Linked DNA regions of Homo sapiens: all the other regions are linked to region 5. Evidence: promoter capture Hi-C in 16 types of primary human blood cells and fetal thymus (Javierre and others, 2016). All regions are on one chromosome and are shown on one strand. Each heading gives the region's core, a stretch centred on a gene start or on the middle of the fragment in contact. The rest is flanking DNA. Distances are from core to core; before and after follow the strand shown.

Evidence for each region. The method cuts DNA at HindIII sites, captures the fragments that hold promoters and counts their contacts. A CHiCAGO score of 5 or more calls a contact.
Region 1: a contact is called between a fragment that was not itself captured here and the fragment with the promoter of EXOC7 in region 5, in 14 of 17 cell types (M1 macrophages, endothelial precursors, megakaryocytes and 11 more). The highest score is 11.8, in M1 macrophages.
Region 2: a contact is called between a fragment that was not itself captured here and the fragment with the promoter of EXOC7 in region 5, in 5 of 17 cell types (endothelial precursors, M1 macrophages, total CD8 T cells and 2 more). The highest score is 7.7, in endothelial precursors.
Region 3: a contact is called between a fragment that was not itself captured here and the fragment with the promoter of EXOC7 in region 5, in 1 of 17 cell types (endothelial precursors). The highest score is 5.6, in endothelial precursors.
Region 4: a contact is called between a fragment that was not itself captured here and the fragment with the promoter of EXOC7 in region 5, in 1 of 17 cell types (M1 macrophages). The highest score is 5.0, in M1 macrophages.

Annotation. Positions count from the first base shown.
Region 1 is chr17:76,269,752-76,272,451 of GRCh38, reverse strand. It overlaps UBALD2 (UBA like domain containing 2), which reads right to left. Exons shown (of 3, transcript NM_182565.4): 3 at 1,154-2,258. The coding sequence ends at 1,947. Among named protein-coding and RNA genes, the nearest start is that of UBALD2, 5.8 kb to the right of the region's middle. RefSeq lists enhancers at 112-161, 1-514, 1,102-1,321, 2,202-2,391 and a silencer at 312-411. The HindIII fragment of the contact is 5,749 bases long and covers 1-2,700 here.
Region 2 is chr17:76,253,081-76,255,780 of GRCh38, reverse strand. LOC105371896 (a long non-coding RNA gene) reads left to right here. Exons shown (of 6, transcript XR_007065913.1): 4 at 13-150; 5 at 1,689-1,869. Among named protein-coding and RNA genes, the nearest start is that of UBALD2, 11 kb to the left of the region's middle. The HindIII fragment of the contact is 4,799 bases long and covers 1-2,700 here.
Region 3 is chr17:75,927,882-75,930,624 of GRCh38, reverse strand. It overlaps FBF1 (Fas binding factor 1), which reads left to right. Exons shown (of 30, transcript NM_001319193.2): 7 at 578-628; 8 at 2,432-2,549. Among named protein-coding and RNA genes, the nearest start is that of FBF1, 12 kb to the left of the region's middle. The HindIII fragment of the contact is 1,427 bases long and covers 703-2,129 here.
Region 4 is chr17:75,944,986-75,947,685 of GRCh38, reverse strand. It overlaps ACOX1 (acyl-CoA oxidase 1), which reads left to right. Exons shown (of 14, transcript NM_004035.7): 14 at 891-2,700. The coding sequence ends at 938. Among named protein-coding and RNA genes, the nearest start is that of FBF1, 5.3 kb to the right of the region's middle. The HindIII fragment of the contact is 183 bases long and covers 1,165-1,347 here.
Region 5 is chr17:76,102,436-76,105,135 of GRCh38, reverse strand. EXOC7 (exocyst complex component 7) reads left to right here and starts at 1,349. Exons shown (of 19, transcript NM_001013839.4): 1 at 1,349-1,503; 2 at 1,710-1,775. The coding sequence starts at 1,444. The HindIII fragment of the contact is 3,319 bases long and covers 578-2,700 here.

The DNA.
Region 1 (2,700 bases), core at 32-2,531, 170 kb before region 5:
CCGACCATTCCCGCACCTGGGCATGGCCCACACCTGGGTGGACCCCGGTGCAGGCCCAGGAGGCCTGGGGACGTCACAGCCTAACCACCCACGTGCTGAGAGGGGCTGCCCCTTCCAGCCTGGGAAAGCACAGGTGGGCAGGGGCGGGGGGAGGGGGAGGAGTCTCAGGGGTTTCCAACCAGGAAACAAAACTGAAAGGACGAACCCAGCTTCCAAGCACGTCCGTGTCACACGCAGGGGTGGAGGGGCAGCGGGGCCCACCGTTCCGCTCCACTGGAGGAGGGGCTGCCCCACCGTGTGAGGGGCCCGAGGAGGCCCGGAGGCAGGATGCGGTGGGTGCCGGGCCCGGCCCCTCTCGACTTTTATTTCACTTCCGGCCTGAACCTCCAGAACCCTTGTCCTGCCTGTGTTCCAGCAAGACTTGGGCCCCGTAGACCCCAGCAGAGGGCGAGGCAGGAGGACGGGACAGGAAGGGGCTGCCCAGACTGTATGGCGGTGAAGGGCAGGGCTGGAGGAGGAATCCCAGCCACGCGGCCATCACCCCCATCAGCCAGGTGGACAGGCTCCCCACGCAGCTGACCTCCCGAGCAGCAGGACCACCTGAGGACGAGCTGCTGGGTCAGGAACTGGTAACCTCGCCCCATGCTGACGCCTGCAGGGCTGCGGGGAAGGGGGAATGGAAGCAGGCCCCTCTGGGGACCCGCCAGCCTTAATTGAACTTTGGGTCATGGCCACTCCACAGGCCATGACCCAAAGGGACATACTGCCCCCGGGAAGCTGAGGAGAGGAGTATCGGAGATGAGCCCAGCTGGAAGATGCTTCCTGGGAGGGCCTGGGGGGGCCATCAGGAGGCCCCCAGCTAGAAGGAAGCTCTCCCCACTGTAGATGAAAATGGCTTCCAGCTCTTCTCACTAGGGCTCTGTGGGTGGGGGCTACACCGATGGGGCCAAGAAGGGAAGGTCACAGAAACTCAGGACGGACCCCGGCCCCTCTCTCCTCCCCACACCAACCTGGACCTTGCTGTCAGAGCCCCTGGTGTGACCATCCCACAGCAAAAACATCCAGACCAGCCCAGTGGCAAGGGACCCCCACCACCCCTCTTCTGAGGAGACCGCTTTTCCCACCAACGGAAATAAAAGCACCGCAAACCAGGGAAGTTAGAAAAGTCTCTTTTTAAGTTTTTAAATTAAAATTTCGCCCTGGTGAGATGGGATTCTGATTCGGGAACTAAACCCAAAGGCAGGCTCTCCACTTTGGACCTGGACACGCAGCGGGAGGGGCAGGGCGCCCAGGGCAGTCAAGTCCCCTGCTGGGCAGAGCCTGGCCTTTGACCAAAGTCAGCTCCTCAGTGCCACATCAGCCCTGCACATTCAGCAGGAGACAGGGGTGATGAGCTATGGGGCCACAACCAGCAATCAGAGGTGGGGAAGAGGCCATGGGGAGAGAGCCCTGATACCAAGAGGGCCTTCCACAGCTTTGACCTCAGGCCCTCCTGGGACCTGCAGCTGCTATGTGGCTGCCCAGTGACTGCAGGAGTGGTGTCCTCTTCCAGATTCCAGAAGGCATGGCTGTTAAAGGAGGCAGCTGACAGATGCCTTGTGCCCACAACATCACTCCATCAGCTCTGCAGCATGGCAGCCCTACCCCCGAGCACCCCAGGTGTGCCAGGCCCATTCTCACGCACATTAGTTATATTTATCTATTCATATATATTATAGTTATATATTAAAAACAGAGGAAAAACTTGCCTGAAAAACTCCTGAAGGACCCACGTGGCCCAGGAAGTTTACTGTCCCCCCGACCCACAAAAATTCTTTTATAAAATCTTCCAGTGCGATCTTCGGGAAACCCCCTGCCCTCCCCGGCTCCCCCCTCCCTGGCCCTCCTGTGTCCCCACAACCCTGGGCTGCCCCCAGCTCCAGCCCAGCGCCCGGCGGCGTCCAGTCTCATCTCTGGCCGTCCATGGCCGCCATGGCTTTCTGCTGGGCGCCCCCCTGCTGTGCTCCTGGGGGCCACGTGGGCTGTGGGCGGTGGAGGTGGTGGAAGGTGGTGGGGGAGGAGGGCGGGATCCAGGGCGCCTGGTGGCTGGGCGGGGACGAGGCCCAGAAGGGGCTGAAGTTTGCAGGTGGGGAGCAGGCTGCGGCTGTCATGGGGCTGTTGCTGCTCTGCAGGCCCTCGGAGGCGCGGAGCTTGGAGAACATGGCCAGCGCATCGGGGAAGTTGGGCGGCGTGGCAGGGGTGTTGCTGGGAGTGCACATCTGCGGGAGAGAACACGGGTGTGGGGAGGCTGCCTCGGGGGTCCCCGAGCCACTGGATGGGGCTTACCCAGGCCAGCCGCTCCTTTACTCCCATTTTTCAGCTTCATTCATTTTCGCACAAGCAGCTTCCACAGGACAAAAGTGCCCTCTCCCCGAGGCAATACAAACAGAAAACAAGGACAAAACCCAAGAACCTTATCAAAACCAACGGGGTTTCATGAGGCCTGGAAATGACACCCCGAGGAGCATTCAAAGTAAATGGTTAATTGCACCCAGGAGCTAAGGTGTCAGATTAAAGTGAAAGGGCAAGGGGGCAGCCCAGGACACCACTGTTCCGCACCTTCCCTGGGCAGGGAGACCAGCTGACTGCCCCACCAGCCACCCTCAGATGCTCCCAGGCTGCTAGGCAAGGGAGAGCGGCCAGCGGGGAGGCTCTCCCTCC
Region 2 (2,700 bases), core at 48-2,547, 150 kb before region 5:
AATCCTTCCCAGGTTCAATTTTCCCTGCTCTAAGGAGCCTTCTTGGATTATCTCCTTATGACCTGTGGTTGCTCGTTTGGGTCAGAGTCGCTGTCTGAGGTCACAGAAAACGGAAAAAGGGCCAGCCCTTGCTTGGAGGAATCTACCTTGGTAAGAGAACTCCACTGAGCTCACCCACCAGAAGTTAGGGAGAGGGACTGGGTCACATATGCAGTGGAATCAATGTGCCAACCCACAATGCATTGCTCAGGGATACACATGTATAGGATTAAATGACAATGAAAAGCAAGGGACCGATTAATGCAAATTGGAGGATACTGAGTCTCTGGTGAAGAAAGGAGGATATGCATCTGGGAGAGGTCATTCAAGAGTCTTCAAAGGTCTTGGACTTCTTAAATTCTGTGTCGGGGACACAGGTGATTGTTTATTATTCTTTAAATTGTGTATATTCCAGCTTAGCCAACATGGCAAAACCCCGTCTCTACTAAAAATACAAAAATTAGGTGTGGTGGCATGCGCCTGTAATTCCAGCTACTCGGGAGGCTGAGGCATGAGAATTGCTTGAACCTGAGAGGCACGAGGCTGCAGTGAGCCGAGATCTCCACAGCACTCCAACTTGGGTGACAGAGCGAGATCCTGTTTTGTTTTGTTTTTTTCTGAGACGGAGTTTAGCTGTTGTTGCCCATGCTGGAGTGCAATGGTGCAATCTCGGCTCACTACAATCTCCACCTCCCGGGTTCACGTGATTCTCCTGCCTCTGCCTCCCAAGTAGCTGGGATTACAGGCATTAGCCACTGTGCCCAACTAATTTTTGTATTTTTAGTAGGGACAGTGTTTCACCATGTTGATCAGGCTGGTCTCGAACTCCAGACCTCAGGTGGTCCACCTGCCTCAGCCTGCCAAAGTGCTGAGATTACAGGTGTGAGCCACCGTACCTGGCCTCTGTCTTTTTTTTTTTAATTGTGCATGTAAATTATAAACACACTTTGGGTGTATGATTGTTTTTTCTCAAAAAATAAAATGCAGAGCTGGGCACGGTGGCTCACACCCATAGTCCCAGCACTGTGGGAGGCTGAGGCGAGTGGGCGGGTGGATCGCTTGAGCCCAGGAGTTCAAGACCAGCCTGGGCAAAAAAGCAAGAACCCATTTCTACGAAATATAAAAAATTAGCTGAATGTAGTTCACGCTTCTCAAGAGGACCTCAGATATTCTTCCACAGTGTAGAGAAAAATACTCTGTCCGTGGTCAAGGCCTGCCAGCTATTGTGTGTGCCTGCTAGTATGCTGACAGTCAGTCCTACTATGTGTGTGTGTTAATGCACTAATGTCTACCTACTGTGCATTAGGTCAGTCTCCCTACTGTGTGCCTGCTAGTGCACCGTCATTACACCTATTGCATGTAATGCCTTGTGATGGCACATTCCAAAGAGGGAAGGGTCTGACAACCACTGTGAGGCTGCCAGGGAACCCACAAATTCCCCCAAGTCCTGATCCTCCTCTGAAGACGTCGACGTCTCCTAGCTCACCGTTTCCCAGCCACTGGTGAAATCCTCAATACAGCCCCCTTCACAGCCCATGCAGTTTCTCCACTGCTCCCCTTGTATGTGACCCTGGGGCGAACCTCTCCTCCTTTGGAACCTTGATCTCCCAGTTTATCTCCCAAATTAATAATTTTTTTTATTTGAGTAGCTGCAATATACAAGCCATAAGCCATAACGATGTCCTCTCTGGCACTTTGCACCATATGGAACATGCCAGCAGACAATGAGAGGACTGAAGAGCTGAGCATCGGCAATGAAACGCTTAGCCTGGGAGCACAGCACACGCTGCATAACGACCTTTCTGTCAATGATGGGTTGCGTCTGTGAAGGTGGGCCCACTCAATTAGAATGCTGTATTTCTACTGTATCTTTTCTATGTTTATTTATTTATTTTTTATTTTTTTTGAGACGGAGTCTTATTCTGTCCCTCAGGCTAGAGTGCAATGGCCTGATCTCGGCTCACTGCAACCTCCGCCTCCCGGGTTCAAGCGATTCTCCTGCCTCAGCCTCTTGAGTAGCTGGGATTACAGGCACCTGCCACCATGCCTGGCTAATTTTTGTATTTTTAGTAGAGATAGGGTTTCACCATGTTAGCCAGGCTGGTCTCAAATTCCTGACCTCAAGTCATCTGCCCGCCTTGGCCTCCCAAAGTGCTTTTCTATGTTTAGATGGACAAATACTTCACCACTGTGCTACAATTCCCTACAGTATTTAGTATAGTAACATGCTGGATAGGTTTGTAGCCTGGGAGCAATGGCTATGCCACATGGCCTAGGTGTGTGGTAGGCTAGCCCATTTAGGTGTGTGTGAGTACACTCTAGAATGTTCACACGACGACAGAATCGCCTAATGACGCATTTCTCGGAGCGTATACGGGTCTTTAAGCAACACATGACTGCAGTACACCTTTGTTCATGGTTCACTGTCCCGAAGAATCATGTGGCCTCTTCTAACTTGACGCGGGCAGCAAAAGAGAGCCTCTGCATACCCGAAAGTAGAGGACGGGGGTCAGGTGAATGTCAGCTCCTCATTGCCTCCACAGGCAGCCAGGCTGTGAGTCAAAGAGGATGAACCTATTTTCACTTGGTTATCTTTAAATCCCAGAGTCCGGCTGGGCGCGGTGGCTCACGCCTGTAATCTCAGCACTTTGGGAGGCCGAG
Region 3 (2,743 bases), core at 167-2,666, 170 kb after region 5:
ATTTTTAGTAGGTAATTTTGTATTTTTAGTAGAGACGGGGTTTCACCACATTGGCCAGGCTGGCCTCAAACTCCTGACCTCAAGTGATCTACCCGCCTCGGCCTCCCAAAGTGCTGGGATTACAGGCGTGAGCCACTGTAAATAATGCCCAAGGGCTGCCGAGTGGACCCAAAGCAGAATCCTCTTTCCTGTAGTAAGATGAGTGGAAAGGAGAGCTCCCTGAAACTGCTAGAGTCTTAGATGTTGCTCCTTTCCCCTTATAAACTCCATAGCTGTCCATTGGCATGGGTGGGAAGTAGCAGAATTTCAGTCCTGGATGGAAGAGTTCTCTATGGTTGGAAGGAGTAGGAATGGCAGTGCTCTCTGAGTCTCTAAAACCAGGCAGGTTTGGCTTCAAACAACTGCCAAGCCCAAGCAAGGGGAACAAAGCCACCCTCCTGTGTAAGCTCCATTGGCCAAGCTCTGCTCCTGCCGCGCCGTCTGCCCTAACAGAAGCAAGGGGCCAGGACCCTGAGTTTTATTGGGCCTTGACTAATGTGCCTCCTCATCTGTGTCCTCACCCTCATTGTGGACTTAGGTTTCAGGTATCTCAGAGGCAGACCCACAGGCTCTGCTCCAGGCCATGAAGGTAAGGAAACAGCTTGCACGATTCTTAGAACTGGGGGTGGGTGGGGTGGGGTCATGATATTTTGTACCAAAGCTTCATTCTCCTTCTAATTTCTCCCTTTACAACCTGTGTTTCTGAGCCCTTCCTCGTGCAAGCATGGAACTCGTCTGTGAGCCGTTGGCCTCCTTGCCTTTCTGAGTATCAACCAGTGTTCCTGGTATATAGAGAGTGGAGAGTGCCACAGGCCTCTGGGGAAACGGGGCCAGCTCTACTCGGAGGCCCACCTAGCTGGGTCCCCTCACCTCCACCTAGAAGACAGAGGGGGAGACTCTTTCCTCTAATGCTTGTTCTTAATCTTTCTCCATATTTCTCTCCACATCCCCTGCCAAGCCCCCTTCAATACTGCTGTCTTCTCATCAGATCAAGCCCAGCGCCAATCTTTGCAATGGATTTTTAAGGCACAGATTCTGAATAATTTGTAAGGACATAATCTCTAGCTTGGCCTAAGACACCTTGTTCTCCCTCTCCTTCCAGCCAGCAGCACCTTCCTGTCTGACCCTTGGGGTTTTGTGTCCCTTTTAGTTAACCCATTTTGCCACAGTCCCTAGGACAAAGCCGCGTTTTTGGTTACAGCCCTGTGGGGCTCTTGTTTTTGTTGTGTATTTTTGTTTTTTGGGTTTTTTTTTAGAGACACCATCGCATTCTATCACCCAGGCTGGAGTGCAGTGGTGTGATCTCATTGCAACCTTAAACTCCTGGCCTTAAGCGATTCTCTTACCTTGGCCTCCCAAAATACTGTAATTACAGGCATGAGGCACCACACCCGGTCCAGATTCAGCTTCTTTAATCTCATCTTGAAATCTTTCTCCTCAAAGGCCAGGCACCTGTAATCCCAGAACTTTGGGAGGCCGAGGCAGTAGGCTCGCTTGAGCCTAGGAGTTGGAGGCTGCAATGAGCTATGATCACACCACTGCACTACAGCCTGGGTGGTGACAGAGTGAGACTCTGTCTTCAAAAAAAAAAAAAAAGTCTGGCATGGTGGCTTACTCCTGTAATGCCAGCACTTTGGGAGGCCATGGCAGGTGGATCACTTGAGCTCAGAAGTTGGAGGCTGCAATGAGCTATGATCGCACCACTTCACTCCAGCCTGGGTGACAGAGTGAGACTCTGTCTTTATTTTATTTTATTTTTAATTTATTTTTATTTTTTTGAGACGGAGTCTTGCTCTGTTGCCTAGGCTGGAGTGCAGTGGCATGATCTCGGCTCACTGCAACCTCCACCTCCCAGGTTCAAGCGATTCTCCTACCTCAGCCTCCCAAGTAGCTGGGATTACAGGCGTGCACCACCACACCCAACTAATTTTTGTATTTTTTGTAGAGACAGGGTTTCATCATGTTGGCCAGGATGGTCTCGATTTCTTGACCTGGTGATCCACCTGCCTCGGCCCAAAGTGCTGGGATTCTAGGCATGAGCCACCGCGCCCGGCCAATATCCTGTCTAAAAAAAGAAAAAAAAGAAAGCTTTTTTCCCGAGACCAGCCACCTAGGATCCCTGGGCATAACCCACAAGTCCTCTGACTCAATTTTTGGTGCTGACTTTGAGTCTCTCATCCCAGAACCATGAGCTGGACTCCATTCCACCTCCCCCTGCTTACCTTTAGTTCCATTTTCTTTCTTCACTCACTGTTTTTCTCAACAGTTTTCTCATTTTCCTTTGTTTTCTCACAATTCTACACCTGGGGTGCCAACAGCCCATCTCTCTCAGGTGGAAGTCCTCAGCCCCTTATCAGACATAGTCCTCTGCCCTCCCTCCCTGGTTTTCTAGGACCTGGACGGCATGGATGCTGATATCTTAGGTCTGAAGAAATCTAATTCAGCCCCTAGCAAAAAAGCTGCAAAGGACCCTGGGAAAGGAGAGCTGCCCAACCACCCCAAGCCTGCAGGTGGGTCAGTAGCCAGTGAGAAAGGTGCATGGGAGACGGCTCCTCGCATCTGCTAGGGAGACTTTGAGGACGTGGAAGATGCTAGTAGGAAGCGTTCATGTCCTTGGGTTTTCTCTGCACAGGATGGAGAGGCCAAGGAGCATTTGTGCGTGTGTGTGTTTGAGTGTGTGTGGTGGGGTAAGGGGACAGCTTGA
Region 4 (2,700 bases), core at 7-2,506, 160 kb after region 5:
ATAGAATAAAATATACAAAAAGAGAATTCCGTAGTGCTCTTTGGTACACCCTTTGTCTAGCAGCAATGACTATCAACTCGTGGCTAGTTGTGTTTCATCTGAACCTTCATCCCCCTCCTCCTGGGGACTATTTTGAAATAAATCTAAGACATCAGGGCCAGGCTCAGTGATGCACACCTGGGAGGCCGAGGCAGGTGGATCACCTGAGGTCGGGAGTTTGAGACCAGCCTGACCAACATGGAGAAACCTTGTTTCTACTAAAAATACAAAATTAGCCAGGCGTGGTGGCGCATGCCTGTAATCCCAGCTACTTGGGAGGCTGAGACAGGAGAATTGCTTGAGCCTGGGAGGCGGAGGTTGCGGTGAGCCGAGACCATGCCATTGCACTCCAGCCTGGGCAACAAGAGCGAGGCTCCGTTTCAAAAAAAAAAAAAAAACTAAGACATCAGATAATTTTATCCATAAATAATTCAATGCATAGCTCTAAAAGATAAGGACTCTTCAGAAACAACCACAGGCTGGGCACAGTGGCTCACGCCTGTAATCCTAGCACTTTGGGAGGCTGAGGTGGGTGGATCACTTGAATTGAGGAGTTCTAGACCAGCCTGGCCAACATGGTAAACCCCCATCTCTACAAAAAAATACAAATAGCAGCCAGGTGTCATGGCACACACCTGTAGTTCTAGCAACTCGGGAGGCTAAGGTGGGAAGATCGCTGGAGTCTGGGAGGCAGAGGCTGTAGTGAGCCAAGATTGTGCCACTGCACTCCAGCCTGAGCAACAGAGCAGGACTCAGTCTCAAAAAAAAAACAAAAACAAAAACAAAAAACAGTATACTATTTAACATGGCAAACTCTTTATTAGTAGTTCTTCTCTCTCCTTTCCCCACAGGTCCACGAATCTTACAAGCACCTGAAGTCACTGCAGTCCAAGCTCTGAAGTGTCACAAGGACAAGTTTAATCTGCTTCAGAAAGCGCCTGTGTGCAACTCAAATTTTGTGGAATCTTTTTCGAATTCAAATAGCTATAGAGCAAATGATAAATTGACCCCTTTTTATAAATGGAGGGAAAAAATGAACAGATTTCAGAGATTAAATGAAAAAAAGCAGATGTTTTAAGTGCAATTAACACTGAAAGAGACCTGTTAAACCATTCAGAAAAAGCTTAAGAAATGCGATATGACTTCCTTTTGTAATGCTGCTGATCCCAGTAGACTATGACTTTTGATAATTAGCAGAATTTAACTACTGAGTAGTTGATTATTTTCACATTTTAATTGCTAATCACTGGCTATATAAGTGTTTTTAAGCAAAGGTATTTTTGAAGTGGTGTAGAACCCTTCCAAGCTTTCCTGCTCAGTGTTCTACCAGACTTACCCTGGGGCCTGGCTTAAAAGCAGGATTGAAGAAAAGGGACTGGGGGAAGGAAACTTATTGGAAAACTTGATGCGAATGAGTTTCTGCTTGGCACAGTCTCTGCCTGCTTGCTCTCCTTTGCTGATGGATTGCATTTATCAAACTATTCATGCTAGCATTTTTCCAACGAGGGAACTTATTCCGCACGGGCCTACTGTAGGACCATTGTCTCGTGTAATTAGGAATTTTCCATTTGAAGGATTGCTAAATTGTCACAGTAGTAGGAAGTATAGGGAAACCTCTCAGCTGTGGCACTGTTGTAGCTTTGGAGTGCAGAGTGTAACTCTGGGACAATCAGATTTCACATATTCTGTCATCTTGGCATAAGCCATTAAAAGCTTGGAGATTACTGTATTTGGCATTAAAAAAAAATGTCACTTAGGTCAGCACTCCCAGACGTAGCACAGAAAAACCCTTTGACACAAACCATGTGTTCTGATTTTTGGTTCAGAAAATATTGAAACTGTGAGTTGTTTTTTTTTTAACAACTGGGAAAAAACAAAAACAAAAAACTATAGTTAGAAAAATGGAAGTTCCATAGGTTCTATTTCTTACTCTATGTATGGCTTTGTTTTCAGTCTATTTCTAGGAGCTTTCTCTGAATCGCTAATTGTCCTTTCAGTTGAAATCTAATTTATACAATCATTCTATACTTAAAGGTTAAATACATCTTAATTAATTTTTTCTTAAAGTCAATGTAAGTCACTTTGTTTTGTTTTTTTTTAATCTACGCCATATGCCTCATGAAACCAGCTGTTCTAGAATCAGTCCTGAGAATATGGCTTAATTCCATGGAAACATAACTCCTATCTTGGGACCTGACATAATATCTATCTATCCTGGGGAACTGGTAATATGAGACTTATAGGTTACAGCAGAAATGCTACATGTTGACAAAAGCCTTAATCGTTCCACTGGGAGAACTAATTGATAATTGTGTTAAGATTGAAGATTAACCCTGTGTTAATCTCACTTGAGTCTATCCTGACAGTAGTTCAGATTCTGGAAAATGATAAACTGACCTGCTAGATGTAGAATTGTTTCAAAATTAGTGTTGAAATACCTTGTTCACAGATGAATATCTGGGCAGGATCTGAGGGTGTTTGGAATGACACCCCCCAATCCAGTTGCATAGATGGGATGTCTTTGCAGGTTTGAGGAGATCATCGACCTGCAGAGCCCCCTTTGACCCAGTACCTCACGTTTTATTTAAAATCTAAATCTGGGGCCAGGCGTGGTGGCTCACGCCTGTAATCCAAGCACTTTGGGAGGCCGAAGCGGGTGGA
Region 5 (2,700 bases), core at 100-2,599:
ACTTTCTCCTACTTAGCCCTTTGGACTACACAAGGACCATGTCAGCGAAATCATCCTGGGTATTTCCTGACACAGGAATCAGCCTTTTATCTCCCCCACCTACAACAGGATTGAAATTGTCCTCTTGCCTGAGGGAAGGCTGCCCATCCCTCTCCAGGCTCTGTGCACCCACTTCCTCCTCCTCCTCCTCTTCGGGTGACTATGGGTGGAGTGAGCGCTTGGGAACCCTAGAGCTTGGGTTCTTCCTTCTCTCCTTCTCTCCTTAGGCCGGGAGCAGGGGCTCACGCCTGTAATCTCAGGACTTTGGAAGGCCAAGGCGGGTGGATCACTTGAGGTCAGGAGTTCGAGACTAGCCTGGGCAACATGGCGAAACCCTGTCTCTACTAATAATACAAAAAAATTAGCCGGGCGTGTTGGCAGCCGCCTGTAATCCCAGCTACTCGGGACGCTGAGGCACGAGAATCACTTGAACCCGGGAGGCAGAGACTGCAATGAGCCAAGATCGTGCCACTTGCACTCCAGCCTGGGCGACAGAGTGAGACTCTCTCTCAAAAGAAAAGAAAGGAAAAAAAAAGCTTGGTGTCCCCCCTGCCCGCCCCAAACCTTCTCATCTACCAGCACATGCCTCCTTGTCTATCTTCCGGGTGTCTGGACACTGAGGCCACAGAAGGACTGAACCAAGCTGGTCGGCCTTGTCCTTTCTCAAGGCTGGGGGCCAGAGGCAGGGTGGGCAGGGACGGGTTAGAGGAAGGAGTAACTCGAGGTTTTGCAGGAGCTGGGTCTGCAACCACAACATCCAGCCCCGCAGGGAAGTTGATCCAGGGGCGCCCCCCACCCCGTCCCCTGGAGCTGCAGTTGGACGCTGGGTCTGGGCCTGGAGCTCCGGAGCAGCCCCGCCAGCCCACAGGATACGTTTTTGCGTAATGCAGGGTGGAAGGCGGAAACAAGTACACAAGCCCCTGGTTCATTACATGGACACACGTTAGGCATCTACTGTGTCACCTGCTCCGTGCGGGGCTTTGTGGGAAACGCAATTGGCCTTGGTGCCTGCCCATAGAATGCGACCTGGGGAAAGGAATTCGTCGCCTTCCCCAGCAGTCTTTATCAAAAGGGTCGGTCTTTCAACGAAAACAGCAAGTGAGCTCTAAGTGTCCTGCCAGCCGCGGGACATAAGGCCGATCGAAAACCTCTGCTGAGGCAAGGAACCCGCGTCGAGGTCCCTTGCAGCATCCGAATACACTTCTCTTCCCAGCCACGCTCAAAATGGCCGTCGGTCCGTTCTTGGGCTCCGCGCAGGCGCACTTCAGCCTGCGATTCCCAACATGGCTCCGCCCAGGCGTCCCGGGGCGGGACCAAGAGCGGAAGTGGGTGTGACGGGGACGGGGGCCCGGTGGGCCCGCGGAGGAAAGATACTGGGGAGTGGGAGCCGCGGGGTTCAGAGCGATGATTCCCCCACAGGAGGCATCCGCTCGACGGCGGGAGATTGAGGACAAGCTGAAGCAGGTGGGCGTGGGCCTGGGGAGGCTGGGGAGGAGGTGAGGGAAAGGGGCCAACAGCGGGGCCTGATTGTCTACTCATGGAGGAGGCAGGGGTGGGAGGGAGCGCACCCAGCGAGGAGATGGGGTTGGGGGCTAGGCCGTGGGGTTGGGACGCAGTGGTCTCCTTTAGCTTCTGGTTTCTGGTGATGTCCTCCCCTTGCCTGCCCCCAGGAGGAGGAGACTCTGTCCTTCATCCGAGACAGCCTGGAGAAGAGCGACCAGCTCACTAAGAACATGGTGAGTCTCCCCGCAGCTGGGGGAGAGGGCAGGCCTCCGGACCCTGGGGGAGAGCCTTGCGACCTGGCGGTTCCGGTTCCTGCGGCCTGGAGTTCTGGAATGGGCAGCGACGGAGGCAGTGTGTGGGTTTATCTAGCAACAGTTTGGCATCTCTCCTGCCTAGCCCCCTCCCCATGTTCCGTACCCTCACTGAGGAGGCTGCACTTCCCACTGGCCTGGACTTGCTGCTTTCTGTCTAAGCTCGCCATTCTTCCTTCTCTCCTTCTGCAAACACTCAGTGAGTCTGACCAGTTGGGCTAGGTACTGGGCATATGTCATTGTCAGTGGACTCTCTGCCCAGGAGGTTGGCACTTTGAGATTCCTGAGGGCAGAGAAGACTCAGCCTTCACTCCAGAGGACTTTAGGGAAAGAAAGAGCTCTAAAGTCAGGCAGATCTGGGATCTAGTCCTTGCCCTTCTGCTTAAATGTGCGGCTCCTGATAGGTAACTGGTGTCAGCGAATTCATCTGCTAAAACAGAGACTGTGCCAGCCTCCCAGTGTGTCTGTGAAGGTCATATGCGCTAATGCATGCGACTGCATCTTGCACAGTGCCTGGTATACAATAGGTGCTCAATAAGTGAGTTTCCTTCTTTATTCCTAGGGGAGACTGGAAAAGCACAAAGTGAGTAAATACAAACTTGTATTTGCATTTAGTCACACAATAATAAAGTCCTAGTCCTTTTCTAAAAATTTTAATTTTTAAATTTTTTTTTTTAGAGGCAGAGTCTGGCTGTGTTGTGCAGGCTAGAGTGCAGTGGCATGACTGTAGCTCACTGCAGTCTCTAACTCCTGGGCTCAGGCAGTCCTCCTGCCTCGGCCTCCTAGCAGCTGGGACTGTAGGCACACACCACCACGCCTTGCTAATTGTGTGTGTGTGTGTGTGTGT